Regions from separate parts of the Homo sapiens genome. Here region 2 is linked to region 1. The links are contacts of gene promoters, found by promoter capture Hi-C in blood cells and fetal thymus (Javierre and others, 2016). All regions are on one chromosome and are shown on one strand. The core of a region is centred on a gene start or on the middle of the fragment in contact, and the rest is flanking DNA. Distances in the headings are between cores, read along the strand shown. Region 1 holds the start of TNFRSF21 (TNF receptor superfamily member 21). Region 2 has its middle 10 kb from the start of ADGRF1.

The links. The method cuts DNA at HindIII sites, captures the fragments that hold promoters and counts their contacts. A CHiCAGO score of 5 or more calls a contact.
Region 2: a fragment that was not itself captured here is called in contact with the fragment with the promoter of TNFRSF21 in region 1 in 6 of 17 cell types (M0 macrophages, M2 macrophages, M1 macrophages and 3 more); the score reaches 10.9 in M0 macrophages.

What each region holds. Positions count from the first base shown.
Region 1 is chr6:47,306,472-47,313,945 of GRCh38, reverse strand. It overlaps TNFRSF21 (TNF receptor superfamily member 21), which reads left to right and starts at 4,041. Exons shown (of 6, transcript NM_014452.5): 1 at 4,041-4,530. The coding sequence starts at 4,435. RefSeq lists enhancers at 3,779-4,073, 4,025-4,204, 4,368-5,090 and a silencer at 4,345-4,574. The HindIII fragment of the contact is 9,028 bases long and covers 1-4,098 here.
Region 2 is chr6:47,049,080-47,056,553 of GRCh38, reverse strand. No RefSeq gene overlaps it. Among named protein-coding and RNA genes, the nearest start is that of ADGRF1, 10 kb to the right of the region's middle. The HindIII fragment of the contact is 483 bases long and covers 3,782-4,264 here.

The DNA of each region.
Region 1 (7,474 bases), core at 2,792-5,291:
TTGAGGTATTGACTGCTTTTGATATGCCTATTAATGTGATTTCTGATTCTGTTCCTATAATTGGGGCAGAATCAGGTTTACAAAAAAATTGGGGCAGAATCAGGTTTACAAAAAAAATTGGGGCAGAATAGGTTTACAAAAACCTATTTGTAAACAGGATTGGACCCAGTTAGAAAAAATGAACGTACTTGTTTAGGAAGATTGCATTGCAGAACAGGCAGAGGTGCTGCACAACGATTCCTATGGAATCATTATTAATTCGTCCCCTAAGGGGACGTTTAGCTTGAATTGCACCTCTCAGTCTGCATGCCACGGCCACACTATGTTCAGATGATCTGAACAAAACGGTCAGATGGTAGAAATGATAAGAACTACGGCAAAAGTTCCCATTACCTGGAACCATGGTGGTATAGCAGCACCTCAGCCTCAAATGATATAGCCCGCTCTAGGAGCTTAACATAAGGAATTAAAATTAAAAGAACAAATGTTTAAAGCATCGCAGGCACACCTGACCTTAATGCCAGGAACTGGAGTGCTTGAAGGAGTTACAGACAAATTAGCAGCTAGTAACCCATTACAATGGATAAAAACACTTGGAAGCTCTGTGATTTCAATGACGTTTGTGCTTTTAATCTGTGTTGTTTGTCTTTGTATAGTCTGCAGATGTGGAACCTGACTCCTGCGAGAAGTAGCTCACCATGACAAAGCTGCCTTTGCTTTTATCGATTTGCAAATCAGAGAAGGGGGACATGTTGGGAGCAGGCCCCCCAAAATCTGGCCATATACTGGCCTCAGAACTGGCCATAAACAAAATCTCTTTTGCACTGTAACATGTTCATAATGGCCCTAACGCCCAAGCTGGAAGGTTGCAGGTTTACAGGAATGAGGGCAAGGAACACCTGGCCCACCCAGGGCGGAAAACCACTTAAAGGCATTCTTAAGCCACCAACAATAGCTTGAGCGGTCTGTGCCTTAAGGACATGCTCCTGCTGCAGTTAACTAGCCCATCCTATTCCTTTAATTCAGCCCACCCTTCGTTTCCCATAAGGGATGCTTTTAGTTAATCGAATATCTATAGAAACAATGCTAATGACTGGTTTGCTGTTAATAAATATGTGGGTAAATCCCTGTTCGGGGCTCTCAGCTCTGAAAGCTGTGAGACCCCTGATTTCCCACTTCACACCTCTATATTTCTGTGTGTGTGTCTTTAATTCCTCTAGCGCCACTGGGTTAGGGTCTCCCCAACGGAGCTGGCATTTTCCTGCCAACTTTCTGTCATTCCCTCATAGATCGGCTCAGGATGTTTGTCATGCAGCAGTCATTTCTCAAAATGTGGACAATTGTTATTTTCATTATAAAGAACATGAAATTTTACTAGACCTTCTGAAAGTGTGCAGGATAAGTTAAAAAAATAATTAAGACAAGATGGTAAATCTGGTGATTTCTTTTTTTTTTTTTTTTTTTTTTTTTGAGACGGAGTCTCGCTCTGTCGCCCAGGTCGGACTGCGGACTGCAGTGGCGCAATCTCTGGTGATTTCTTCAGTATCCAGATGTATATATCAGATTTTTAACAAGAAAGATAAAATAGAAAAAAATGAAAGGTTAGGAAAGCATTAATTGGAATGTACTAAGGACGAGGAAAGAATTAGCAATGATTTTTGAGGTTGGAAAACTAGAAAAATTGTACAACATTGGCAGAAAGAGAGAAAGTCCAAAGGTAGGATGGAGGGTGGAGATAGAGTAATTTTTATGGCAAAGATGACATTGGATTAACTCATTTAGGCCTTCCTTTAAAATTTAGCTATAATTATGATTTATCAACACATATCTCCTCTTTCCTTGGAACTTTGGGAGAAACTTCCTTATGTATCATTGAATTTTTATCCTTTCCCAGAAAACAGACATGTCTAAGTTACCACATTGAAAATGTGGCAATGAATTATTTAATGGTTGCAGCATTGTTACTTCAAAATGGAAGGCATGTATACATTTCAATTCAAAGTAATAAAATTTCACACTGCATCTAGATTCAAATTATCTATAATCTATCACTCTATAGAGGGACATGTATTTAAATGTTAGTAGTAAACAGAATTGAGTAAATTTTTTCATCTCTCAAAATGTATATTAAATTTCAACTTGATATGATCAATGGAACACCAGGAATTCATGAAGTTTCAAAGTGGTCCAAGCACAAATAAACAATTTTCTTTTAGTTTTAGGAAGACAAATAGTTGAGAAGAACTTCTTATACCTGCATAGTAACCCAGACACTAAACTCTAAAGTTGCCCAACTCTTTAGAGCAAATCAATCATATATTACCACGAAAAATGTGAGTTTGGATGCAAGGAGTAAAATGGACTAAATAAAAACGTATTTGAAGCTCCTCCTCCTCTTTAATACCTATGTAACTTCTTAAAAAAAAACAACCCAACCTTATAATAGTATTGGCCAGTCATTTGAATTTTTGAAGAAAAAATTGATACAGTTATGCATGAAAACACAGCATCTATCCCTCACTCTTTCAACTTCTGAAAATAGCTAGAGAGTGGCAAGTCCAACCATCATCCTTTCCCCAAAACTCCATAATTAATGGTAATATTTTCTAGAACTCCTTTGAATTTCACTAGAGGTTATATATTGTAGCTTTTTTCCCACTCTAACATTTATAGACAATACTGACAAATGTTTGAAATAATAGATTGGAATTAACCCTCATATTAATTTTAGCTTCTACCAAAGTGTGCATAGAGCAAAGAATCAAAGGACAACATGTTAACTAATAAAGCAAATAATTGGTACCTATGACTTAGCAAGTTACCTTTATTAGCACTGGGTGTTGGATCTTGAAACTGATAGTTTAAAAAGTGTGATTCTTTTGAAATGGGACCAAAGGAGCCTAGGATAAGCCCAGCACCATAGGGCTCCCAATTGAGGGGTGTGGACTGGATGGCTGAAGAGGTAATATCAATACAGTGTGCCATGTGCTGTCAGTACCTAGATGATGGATAACACGATACCAGAAATGGTGGCCACAGTCAGGAGACTCGGCCTTCCCCCAGGTGAAACAAAGAAAAGGATAACAGCTGCTCTCTTACATTCAGAAGTGTGTGAGATACCAACATCCACGAGAATATTCCAGTTCTCCTTCTGAAGCAGAATACTACCTATTCTACCACCCACATCCTGACAAGGCCTTTGGAAATCAACTCAAAAATTTTTAGCATTATTTTTTGGGGGAAGGGTGATTAAAAAAAATCTCAGGGATAATCCGATTCAAAACTCTTGATTTTTAAATTAGGAAAATGCATCTTTTGATACATTTCAAGGAGTTCAAAAGTCCCTCCAAGACCATCCATGGACCCAACACCAATGACTCTGGGTTTTAAATCCTTTTAGTTTGGATTTCCTTAATTGCATTCATAAGCCCATATTAAAATTAAAATATAAAAAATTAAAATCTTTGCCCCATATTAAAATCACCCTGAAAACTTAAAAAACAAACAAACAACAACAACAACAAACCTCAATGCCCAGACCAGATCCTGTCCTGTTCCAATTAAATCAGAGTCTCTAGAGGTGGGACCCAAGAATCAATATATATGTTTTGAACTCTCCAGGTGATTCCACAGGGCAGCAAAGTTTGAGAAGCAACACACAGGTCTCCTTTTTCGTCACGCAGTTGATCTAAGTGCTCTGTGGTCTATTCACCATCGCTCTCTGATTTAATCATCGTGTCCGAAACAATGGAAAGGCGTATGTAGCTGAAATAATTTAGTTGGAATTATCTCGGAAAAAATAAGTAAAGTTAGATCAGGAGTGAGATGCTTTCTCAGCGCTTTCCCTGGGTCAACAGGCGCGTGCAATTTCCTCAGCGAACGCCAAGGGGCACCCTCTCCCTCCCCGCTCTACCTGGAACGCCTTCGCCTTTCCAACCGCACAAAGAGCCCGGCCTCCTCCCGGGTGACATCACAAAGGGCCGGTCCCCCGCCCCTTCGGCGCCACCACGTGTGTCCCTGCGCCCGGTGGCCACCGACTCAGTCCCTCGCCGACCAGTCTGGGCAGCGGAGGAGGGTGGTTGGCAGTGGCTGGAAGCTTCGCTATGGGAAGTCGTTCCTTTGCTCTCTCGCGCCCAGTCCTCCTCCCTGGTTCTCCTCAGCCGCTGTCGGAGGAGAGCACCCGGAGACGCGGGCTGCAGTCGCGGCGGCTTCTCCCCGCCTGGGCGGCCGCGCCGCTGGGCAGGTGCTGAGCGCCCCTAGAGCCTCCCTTGCCGCCTCCCTCCTCTGCCCGGCCGCAGCAGTGCACATGGGGTGTTGGAGGTAGATGGGCTCCCGGCCCGGGAGGCGGCGGTGGATGCGGCGCTGGGCAGAAGCAGCCGCCGATTCCAGCTGCCCCGCGCGCCCCGGGCGCCCCTGCGAGTCCCCGGTTCAGCCATGGGGACCTCTCCGAGCAGCAGCACCGCCCTCGCCTCCTGCAGCCGCATCGCCCGCCGAGCCACAGCCACGATGATCGCGGGCTCCCTTCTCCTGGTGAGCGCTTGCGTGGACCGGGGGTGGCGGCGGCGCCGGAGCAGAAGGAACCGCTCTCCGGGAGCCGGGCGGGTCACCGGGCCGGGGCTTAGGGAGGCGCGGGGCCCGGCCGACTGGGTTACGGGCACTGAGGGGTTTCCAAGGGAAGGCAACACACCAGAGGGCCTCGACTAGGTTATTTGGGGGAATCTCAGGGCTCAGCCGGGGCTGGGGAATGAAGACGAATTGTTTTCCTTGCAGTCTGGCTTTGCTGGAGGAGACGCTAGAGGTAGCCGCCCAGCTTCTGCGCATTTGAGGGCTTTTCCCCCTACTCGGCCTACCTCGCGCTCCCCACGCCCGCAGCCACAGCCCCCCACCCATCGGCCACTGCCCCTCTGCGTGGTGTGGGGCCTCGCCGCGGTGTGGGGCTCCCACGGCCGGCCGAGGCCGGCGCTTTGTTGCAGCTGCAATGTCATGTCGGGATGCTACCGCAGTGGAAGACAGTGGTACCGGTGCGCGCCGGACACCGGAGACCTCCGGGTGCTGTCGCGCGGTGCATTCCCGAGCAGGGCGCAAGCCGCCCCCTCCTCAATCCCTTTACCCTCTCTCTTCCCTCTTGGCTCGGGTGGGGTCTCAGGTTCTGTATGCCGAAATATCACCCTTAGACCCACTCTCCGGCGCCTCCAAAGCGCCGGCTTCCAGCCAGCCAGCGCGCCGGCACTGGAATGGGGGGAGGGGGAAGGAGATGTGTGTGAAGGAAGATGAATTTTCTACAGTCTTTCCGATCCCTCGTTTACCTGTGGCTAGGCAGGTGACCCTGCAGGGTGGTGCAGTCTCCCTCATCGTCTAAGCTGCATCCACATCTCGGGTCAATCATCTTGACCAAAAACTTACCCTCAACTTCCCCCAAATTCCCTCCCTTTATTTCCAAATATTGGGGTGAAGGGGCAAGTTAGGTGGAAGAAAATTTGAGATCAAACCCTTGAGCTTCCCTTGCCTATCTTTTATCACTGCAGGAGGGATGGAAATTCTTAGCTAAAAACCGAACAAAAAAACCCCCAAGAAACAAGAGCTTGTTTTCACGACAGGGCTGTGTAAGGGAAAAGCAGGCTTGCTGTCTCCTTCCCCAAAAGGGCTTAACGCCTGGCCAGCCAAGAACTGCTTAGATCTCAGGACATTGCAGTTGCTATGGCCTGGGAATTCATCCTACAGACACTCTGGTTCCTTGTGTGTGTGTTTTAAGAGGAAGAGAGAGACTAAATAAAAGTTTGTTACTGTTAGCATTTATAATGAGGCAAGTCCCAGTCTCCCTTCAGAAACTCTTTTCTGCCCACTTATTAATGGCATGGCCAAGGTTTATATCTTTGAAACAAGTGAAACAAGTGTGGTGGATGGTAAGCAGTAGTCGGGGAGTCTCTTGGGACAATGAACCTGGATTGACAGTCTTGGTGTGGAGAGAAACACATCTAGGTCCATGGGAACACTGATCCTAGTTCAGTGGAGTGAGAACTATCATCATTTCCTTTTTCACAGCTTTAGATCCACTACTATCCACTACTATGTTTCAGGTGCTTCTAACACATCTGATTATTATATGCCTCACAGAGTCCATTCCCAGATTAAATCTTAAGTCATTGTGCAATACTCCATTTATTTTACCTTTTAGCATGAGGTAGGTAATTAAACAAAGGTCTTGATGTAATCAAATGGTAGGTTGCCTTAACTAACTGAGAAAGGGCCCAGCTCCTTTTCTTGAATCATCAGGCTAGGCACCCTGGCTTATGCCTGTAATCCCAGCGTTTTGGGCGGCCAGGGTGGGAGGATTGCTTGAGTCCAGGAGTTCGAGATTTGCCTGGGCAACATAGTGAGACCCCATCTCTACAAGAAATTAGGTGGGTGTGGCGGTGGTGTGCGCCTGTATGCCCAGCAACTCAGGAGGCTGAGGTGGGAGGATGGCTTGAGCCCAGGATGTTGAGGCTGCAGTGAGCTGTGACCATGCCACGGCACTCCAGCTTGAGTGACAGAGTGAGACCCTGTCTCCAAAACCAAAATAAAAAATAAGTCATCAAACTCAACCTACCCTAAAAATTGTGCACTGGATTTGCAACTAAAGACCTGACAATTTAAGTTTGGCTACTTTGAAAAAGATAAAATTTATAATGGGGCTTAGGAGCAGTCTCAAGTTGATAACCAATACAGGATTCCTTATTCTTCTGCTAGCTATGCTAAAAAGACTTCAGGTAAATTCATGAAATGGCATGAGGTTCAGCCCTTCATCCTGAAGGGTGACTGGAGGGTGTGCCAGGAATCAGTAGAGACTATGTTATAATCCCCATCCAGGGTGGGGAGGAAATGCCTTTTGTCTTTCACATTCTTATTCTGCATGCCCAAGTCCACAGCACAGGCTTTGTTAATGTATAAAATGATGATCTCATGATACTGTTCCAAGAAGTATTTATCCCATTGGGATCCTTGGCCATGTGAACATAACGGACATCAGGTACTGGAGCCTGGGTACACGTGGCAGGGTACTCAGAACACTACTGGGGGAGGTGGGCAAGTTAGTGGCCTGCCCACGTATTACAGTTAGATTAAAAAGTAATAATCCCAGTAAAATGTTCTATTTATTATGTCTTTTAATGCTCTTCTTTCAAATATCTCCCTTTTTGTGTGATAATATTTATTGTCATCATTTTTGTGTTATGACTTTTTGTTTGTCATGACCGGCTAACTGCATGAAAAATAGCTTACTATAAGCTTATAAAAATACAAATATATAGGTACACAATATGATATAATATATACACATGTATATAGCAATTGTATATGTATAGAGAGAGCAATTGCTACATGCCAGGTGCTTTGTATACAGTATCTCATTTATTCATAGCATCTTTGTGAAGCAGGTGATATTGTCTCCTTTTTATAGTTGAGAAAATGGAAGCTCCCAGAACTTCATTGGTTT
Region 2 (7,474 bases), core at 2,774-5,273, 260 kb after region 1:
TTATGTTGATCTATTACCTTCATTTCCCTTGGGTAAATATATACAAGTGGGATTGCTGGGTCAAATTGTAAGTGCATATTTAATCTTATAACTAAAAGTAACAATTGTCATTAACAATGAACAATTGTTAAATTAATAATTGTCCAACTATTTTCTAAAGTGATTGTACAATTTTACATATCTACAATTTTATGAGTGTTATAGTTGTTCAGCACCGTTGCCAATATTTTATATTGTTGGAAAGCAGGAGACTATGCCACACGATCAATCGTCTATTAAATTAAGTATACCTAAGCATACATATATGTATGTATACATATAAATGGTGTTCTAAGAAAATTTTTAACAGTTGATGACACAAGTATAACATTATACTCTGGAGAAGTTAGACTCTAAATTTATTAGTCGCTAGTGCATGTTGCTTCTGAGAAAAATATTTTCTAATTTTGTTCATCTCATTGTCCTCCCTTATTAATAATCAGTATCAATGCTTACTCAAACACTGAGCACATATTTCACAGGAAAGGTTTGGGCCTTATTCCTCATCATTCACAGTACCCTGCCCCCCACAATGCTCTTGCAGGCAGAAGGGCTGCCAAGGTGAGGAAGGGGAGAAAAAAAAAGGGGTTACCAGAGATAGATCGACAACTGTGCATGGCCTGACCCTACTTACATTTCATCTGTGTGCAGGGAAATAGAAACGGCCTACAAATACACGTTATACCCCAGTACCATAAAGAAGAAGCAGAAACAATAATAAGTAACCAGGACAGAAAAATCATTGCAAAAATGAGTGTACTTTATGTGTCTCTCTGCGTTCCCCCTTTTTTTCCCCTCTTTCTTTATGATATAAATATATTTCTTTTTAAAGGTATATCTTTCATCCATTTGCCCTTTCATGGTAAACTTGCAATAGAATCTCATCCTGGGTGGCAATGTTTTCTAACGTCAGGTTCAATTTCATTTTATATTTTAATGATACGTGAAGGCATACAATCACACCTCACAAGCCTTGGGATATAACTGAGGAAACTTCTTCTGCATTTTTTCATACATTTAAAAATATTTTAATATTACTCCTGCCTAGTTGTTAGATTCATTCCTTGATAATGGGTTTAGTCATAATCCTGAAAGACACAACCCTGAACACTGTATTTCTGAAGGTTGAAATCCTGAAAAATCAAAATCCTTAAAATGTAATTCTGGAAAAAATAATTTAAAAGATATTTTATTTTCATTTTTAAAAGGTGGCTCATTTGAGAAACATTATAAAAACACAACAGAACACTTCAGAGCCCACTTTCCACAATAAAATAGACAATAAAACACACATGTTTTTCACCTAAAGCAATGGCAACAAAAGCCAAAATTGACAAATGGGATCTAATTAAACTAAAGACCTTCTGCACAACAAAAGAAACTATCATCAGAGTGAACAGGCAACTTACAGAATAGGTGAAAATTTTTGCAATCTATCTGTCTGACAAAGGACTAATATCCAGAATCTACAAAGAACTTAAACAAATTTACAAGAAAAAAACAACCCCATCAAAGAGTGGGCGAAGGATATGAACAGACACTTCTCAAAAGAAGACATGTATACAGCCAACAGATACATGAAAAAACGCTCATCATCACTGGTCATCAGAGAAATGCAAATCAAAATCACAATGAGATACCATCTTACGCCAGTTAGAATGGCGATCATTAAAAAGCCAGGAAACAACAGATGCTGGAGAGGATGTGAAGAAATAGGAACACTTTTACACTGTTGATAGGAATGTAAATTAGTTCAACCATTGTGGAAGACAGTGTGGCGATTCCTCAAGGATCTAGAACCAGAAATACCATTTGACCCAGCAATCCCATTACTGGGTATATACCTAAAGGATTATAAATCATTCTACAATAAAGACACATGCACATGTGTGTTTATTGCAGCACTGTTCACAATAGCAAAGACTTGGAACCAACCCAAATGCCCATCAATGATAGACTAGATTAAGAAAATGTGGCACATATACACCATGGAATACTATGCAGCCATAAAAAAGGATGAGTTCATGTCCTTTTCAGGGACATGGAAGAAGCTGGAAACCATCATTCTCAGCAAACTAACACAGGAACAGAAAACCAAATGCCGCATGTTCTCACTCATAAGTGGGATTTGAACAATGAGAACATATGGACACAGGGAGGGGGACATCACACACTGGGGCCTGTTGGGAGGTGTGCGGCTTGGGGAGGGATAGCATTAGGAGAAATACCTAATGTAGATGACGGGTTGCTGGGTGCAGCAAACCACCATGACACGTATATACCTATGTAACAAACCTGCACATTCTGCACATGTATCCCAGAACTTAAATTATAATAAAAAACTATGTTTTTGCAAGCCCACTTAGGTATACTAGGAACAATTGCATGGGTATAAGTTATGAGCAGACGAGTGTATTCATAAATAGATGAAAAAGTGAAATGTAGAAATCATGTATCACTATGGCTGGTAATTGTGTACGCTCAGCTTTATAACTGCAATAATCTGAAATGCTGTGATGGACAACCCACGTCTTTTGAGAAGAACAATAGAAACCTGTGATCACTCGCCACCGCATATGCAGTCACCCAAAGAGCCGAACCCTTGAGCAGTTTTCTCTTTTACAAAAGCAGATGCACTAAAAGGACATTTCTTCATTTATTAAGAAAGTTTCAATATTTTTACATATACACACGAGGCTTACACATGAAGTCAAATGTACTTTCATGGAGTCAAGTTTATAAAAAATGCATAGAATGAATTAGAACTCTCTAAAAGTCTTTACACAATTTATACCTCCAATATTGGAAATGAGGTAAAGATGAAATACATAGCATAGCAAATCGTGAAAAATAATGCTGTCAATTTAAAATAGTTGGGAATCAAAAATTTAAAAAGAAAAAAGAAGAAAAACAAACTCAAAAGAAAATTTACCATATGAAAAAGCAATTAGAGGGATAGACTATGCATAATTGCACATAGGCTGTTCATAAGAGCTGGCCAGCTTTCACTATCATTAGCTCTATTTTGAAGTCTTGCATCCAGATGATTCTCCTTGGAGAATATGTTCACTTTCATTTTCTATATGGTGCTTGCTCTTTTTGAAATCATTCTGTGATTCAATATACAACAACATAAGCATTCCCTATTGTTTTCCCATCTTCTGTACCACACTTCTAGGTTGCTTTGCGCATGCAAAGTCCATTCCGCGTGCACTTATATACAGACTACAAATTTGGTGGGAACTATACTGTTGATCGAACCCCAACACTGTTGTATAAGTGTCTTCCTATCCTACCAGGCACATAATTATTTTTAAACTAGTCAGTAACTTTGCTGGCTTCTTCAGAGAAATGCGACTTTAATTCATTAAAAGCTCCTGGAATTTCACCAGCTGAAAGGAATGCCAGTGCAGACAAATAATGCATTATTTTTTTGAGATGAGTCTCGCTCTGTCGCCCAGGCTGGAGTGCAGTTGTGCAATCTCAGCTCACTGCAACCTCTGCCTCCTGGGTTCAAGTGATTCTCCTGCCTCAGCCTCCCGAGTAGCTGGGATTACAGGCCCATGCCACCACACCTAGCTAATTTTTGTATTTTTAGTAGAGATGGGGTTTCACCATGTTGGTCAGGCTGGTCTCAAACTCCTGACCTCAGGTGATCACCCACCTCGGCCTCCCAGAGTGCTGGGATTACAGGCGTGAGCCCCCGCACCCAGCCGAAATAATGCATTTTTAAAAGGAAGCTTTCATCATTGCCTTATCACATGGCCCATCCAGTCATCTGAATTGCCCTCCAAATGCAAATAAAGACAAAAACAAGGTAATAATAGTTCTGCCTGACATAATGCAACTAACATGATGCAACAACCCTGCTTACAGCTGAAAACTCATTCATACCTTCCCCAGAATTCAGGTTTCAGGGTTTCAACATTTGGGATTTATTGTGATTTTCAAGATTTTAGACTAGAGATTTTGATCCTTCGGTACTTCAACCCAAATTATGATTGAAATTACAGATTATCATGTTCAAAATTGCATCTTTCAGAATTATGATCAGCACTGCTTAATTATTTTATTTTATTTGATCATGTAGAAAATCAAGCCATATTCTTCTTTAGAGGAACTCAAAAGACATTAATTATCCCCAAATTTACCTATACACTTAACATAATCTCAATAAATATATCAATAGGTTTTTGTGGTGTGTGGGGAGGGGGAAAGTCAAGCTTATTCTAAAGTTTATATGAATAAATTAATAAGCAGAAATAGAAAAATTCTGAAAAGGAAGAATAATGAGGAATAATTAGTATATTAGATATAAAGATATATGATGAAGTCACAATAAACAGAGTATTAAGTTGTTCTTGAGCAGACACAGACGAATGAAATGAATACAAAATCCATGAATTGACCCAAAGTCACATAGGAATTTAGTATTTAATAAAGGTAGCATCTCAAATCAATGAGGCAAAGATATGTTATTCAGTCCATGGTGTGAAACAAATGAGTAGGTCAATGCAAAACAATGTTACTAGCACAAGTTAATTGCTACAGATTGTTTTTTTTTTTTTTTATTATACTTTAAGTTTTAGGGTACATGTGGACATTGCGCAGGTTAGTTACATATGTATACATGTGCCATGCTGGTGTGCTGCACCCACTAACTCGTCATCTAGCATTAGGTATATCTCCCAATGCTACCCCTCCCCCCTCCCCCCACCCCACCACAGTCCCCAGAGTGTGATATTCCCCTTCCTGTGACCATGTGATCTCATTGTTCAATTCCCACCTATGAGTGAGAATATGCGGTGTTCGGTTTTTTATTCTTGCGATAGTTTACTGAGAATGATGGTTTCCAATTTCATCCATGTCCCTACAAAGGACATGAACTCATCATTTTTTATGGCTGCATAGTATTCCATGGTGTATATGTGCCACATTTTCTTAATCCAGTCTATCATTGTTGGACATTTGGGTTGGTTCCAAGTCTTTGCTATTGTGAATAATGCCGCAATAAACATACGTGTGCATGTGTCTTTATAGCAGCATGATTTATAGTCCTTTGGGTATATACCCAGTAATGGGATGGCTGGGTCAAATGGTATTTCTAGTTCTAGATCCCTGAGGAATCGCCACACTGACTTCCACAATGGTTGAACTAGTTTACAGTCCCACCAACAGTGTAAAAGTGTTCCTATTTCTCCACATCCTCTCCAGCACCTGTTGTTTCCTGACTTTTTAATGATTGCCATTCTAACTGGTGTGAGATGGTATCTCATAGTGGTTTTGATTTTCATTTCTCTGATGGCCAGTGATGATGAGCATTTTTTCATGTATTTTTTGGCTGCATAAATGTCTTCTTTTGAGAAGTGTCTGTTCATGTCCTTCGCCCACTTTTTGATGGGGTTGTTTGTTTTTTTCTTGTAAATTTGTTTGAGTTCATTGTAGATTCTGGATATTAGCCCTTTGTCAGATGAGTAGGTTGCGAAAATTTTCTCCCATGTTGTAGGTTGCCTGTTCACTCTGATGGTAGTTTCTTTTGCTGTGCAGAAGCTGGAGGCATCACACTATCTGACTTCAAACTATACTACAAGGCTACAGTAACCAAAACAGCATGGTACTGGTACCAAAACAGAGATATAGATCAATGGAACAGAACAGAGCCCTCAGAAATAACGCCACATACCTACAACTATCTGATCTTTGACAAACCTGAGAAAAACAAGCAATGGGGAAAGGATTCCCTATTTAATAAATGGTGCTGGGAAAACTGGCTAGCCATATGTAGAAAGCTGAAACTGGATCCCTTCCTTACACCTTATACAAAAATCAATTCAAGATGGATTAAAGATTTAAACGTTAGACCTAAAACCATGAAAACCCTAGAAGAAAACCTAGGCATTACCATTCAGGACATAGGCGTGGGCAAGGACTTCATGTCCAAAACACCAAAAGCAATGGCAACAAAAGCCAAAATTGACAAATGGGATCTAATTAAACTAAAGAGCTTCTGCACAGCAAAAGAAACTACAGATTGTTTAGACTGTGTATTTCAAGAAAAAGGTGGCTACTTTGCAAATGGAAGTAAAATTAAAAAACAAAAGTCCATAAATTCTGGGACTTATCAGAGAGAAGATGTAACTAATTCCTATCTCTAACTAATAAAATATAAAACTGAGGTGGTCTTGGTTTGGATATAAAACCAATTATATCCAAGCCTAATAACAAGAAGTGAGTCACGGATATGGCCGTCAAATCTTTTTCCTTCAACACTGGGAATGAGTAAGGTGGCTCTAAGTCTTTCAGGTGGATAAAATTACTCCGGAAAAGAAACCAAAGGTGTGGCTCTGCCACTGACGCCTGATAGACTCAAGGTACTGCTTGGAAAAGAATGTGAGGCGTATATGATGGCACGTGCAGCTGATTGGAATGAAACAAATGAGGTGACAATTATGTTTTAAGAGCATTGTACTGACAAGAGAACCACTAGCTGTAGTAAAAGGGATTGCAACTTTCTTGCTTGAAGCCTGAAACTCGTTCAGCATATTAACTGCCATTCACATTTATCACACGTTTCTCTTTTTAAAATTTTTATTTATTTATTTATTTTTGAGATGGAGTCTCACTCTGTTGCCCAGGCTGGAGTGCAGTGTTGCAATCTCGACTCATTGCAACCTCCGCCTCCCAGGTTCAGGCGATTCTCCTGCCTCAGCCTCCTGCGTAGCTGGCATTACAGGCATGCAGTACCATGCCTGGCGAATTTTTGTATTTGTAGTAAAGATGGGGTTTCGCCATGTTGGCAAGGCTGGCCTCAAACTCCAGACCTCAAGTGATCCGCCCACCGTGGCCTCCCAAAGTTTTAGGATTACAGGCGTGAGCCACCATGCCAAGCACAAAGGTTTCTTATATAGGTCATGCCCATATGGTTTCCAAGAACAATTTCTTTGCTGCTCATTGGCCAGACAAGAAGCAAATGTCATACATTGTCAGATTTCTCTTATGGCAGCTTTACCCCACTCTTAGTACCAATTTCTGTATGCTTAAGCTAGATTACAATATAGTAACAACCTCAAAATTTCAATTTCTCAAAACAAAAAAGGTTCATGTCTTGCATATATAATATATTTTAAACAAATACAATTCACCGCACCTACTGATGGACTTTTAGATTACTTTCAATCAGCATATTAGAAATAATTCTGCATTGTATACATATCATTTTGCACATATGAAAGTATGTGTGTAGGTTGTATTTCTAGAAATAGAATTGCTAAGTCAAGTGATATGTAAATGTAAACATTTGGTACAGATTTACTGACTTATATTCCCGCTAGTTATATATGACACTGCCTATTTCCTCCTACCTGCAACAATGTTGTCATTAACGCTTTTGATCTTTTACCTGAGAGGTAAAAATAATATCCCATCATTGCTTTAG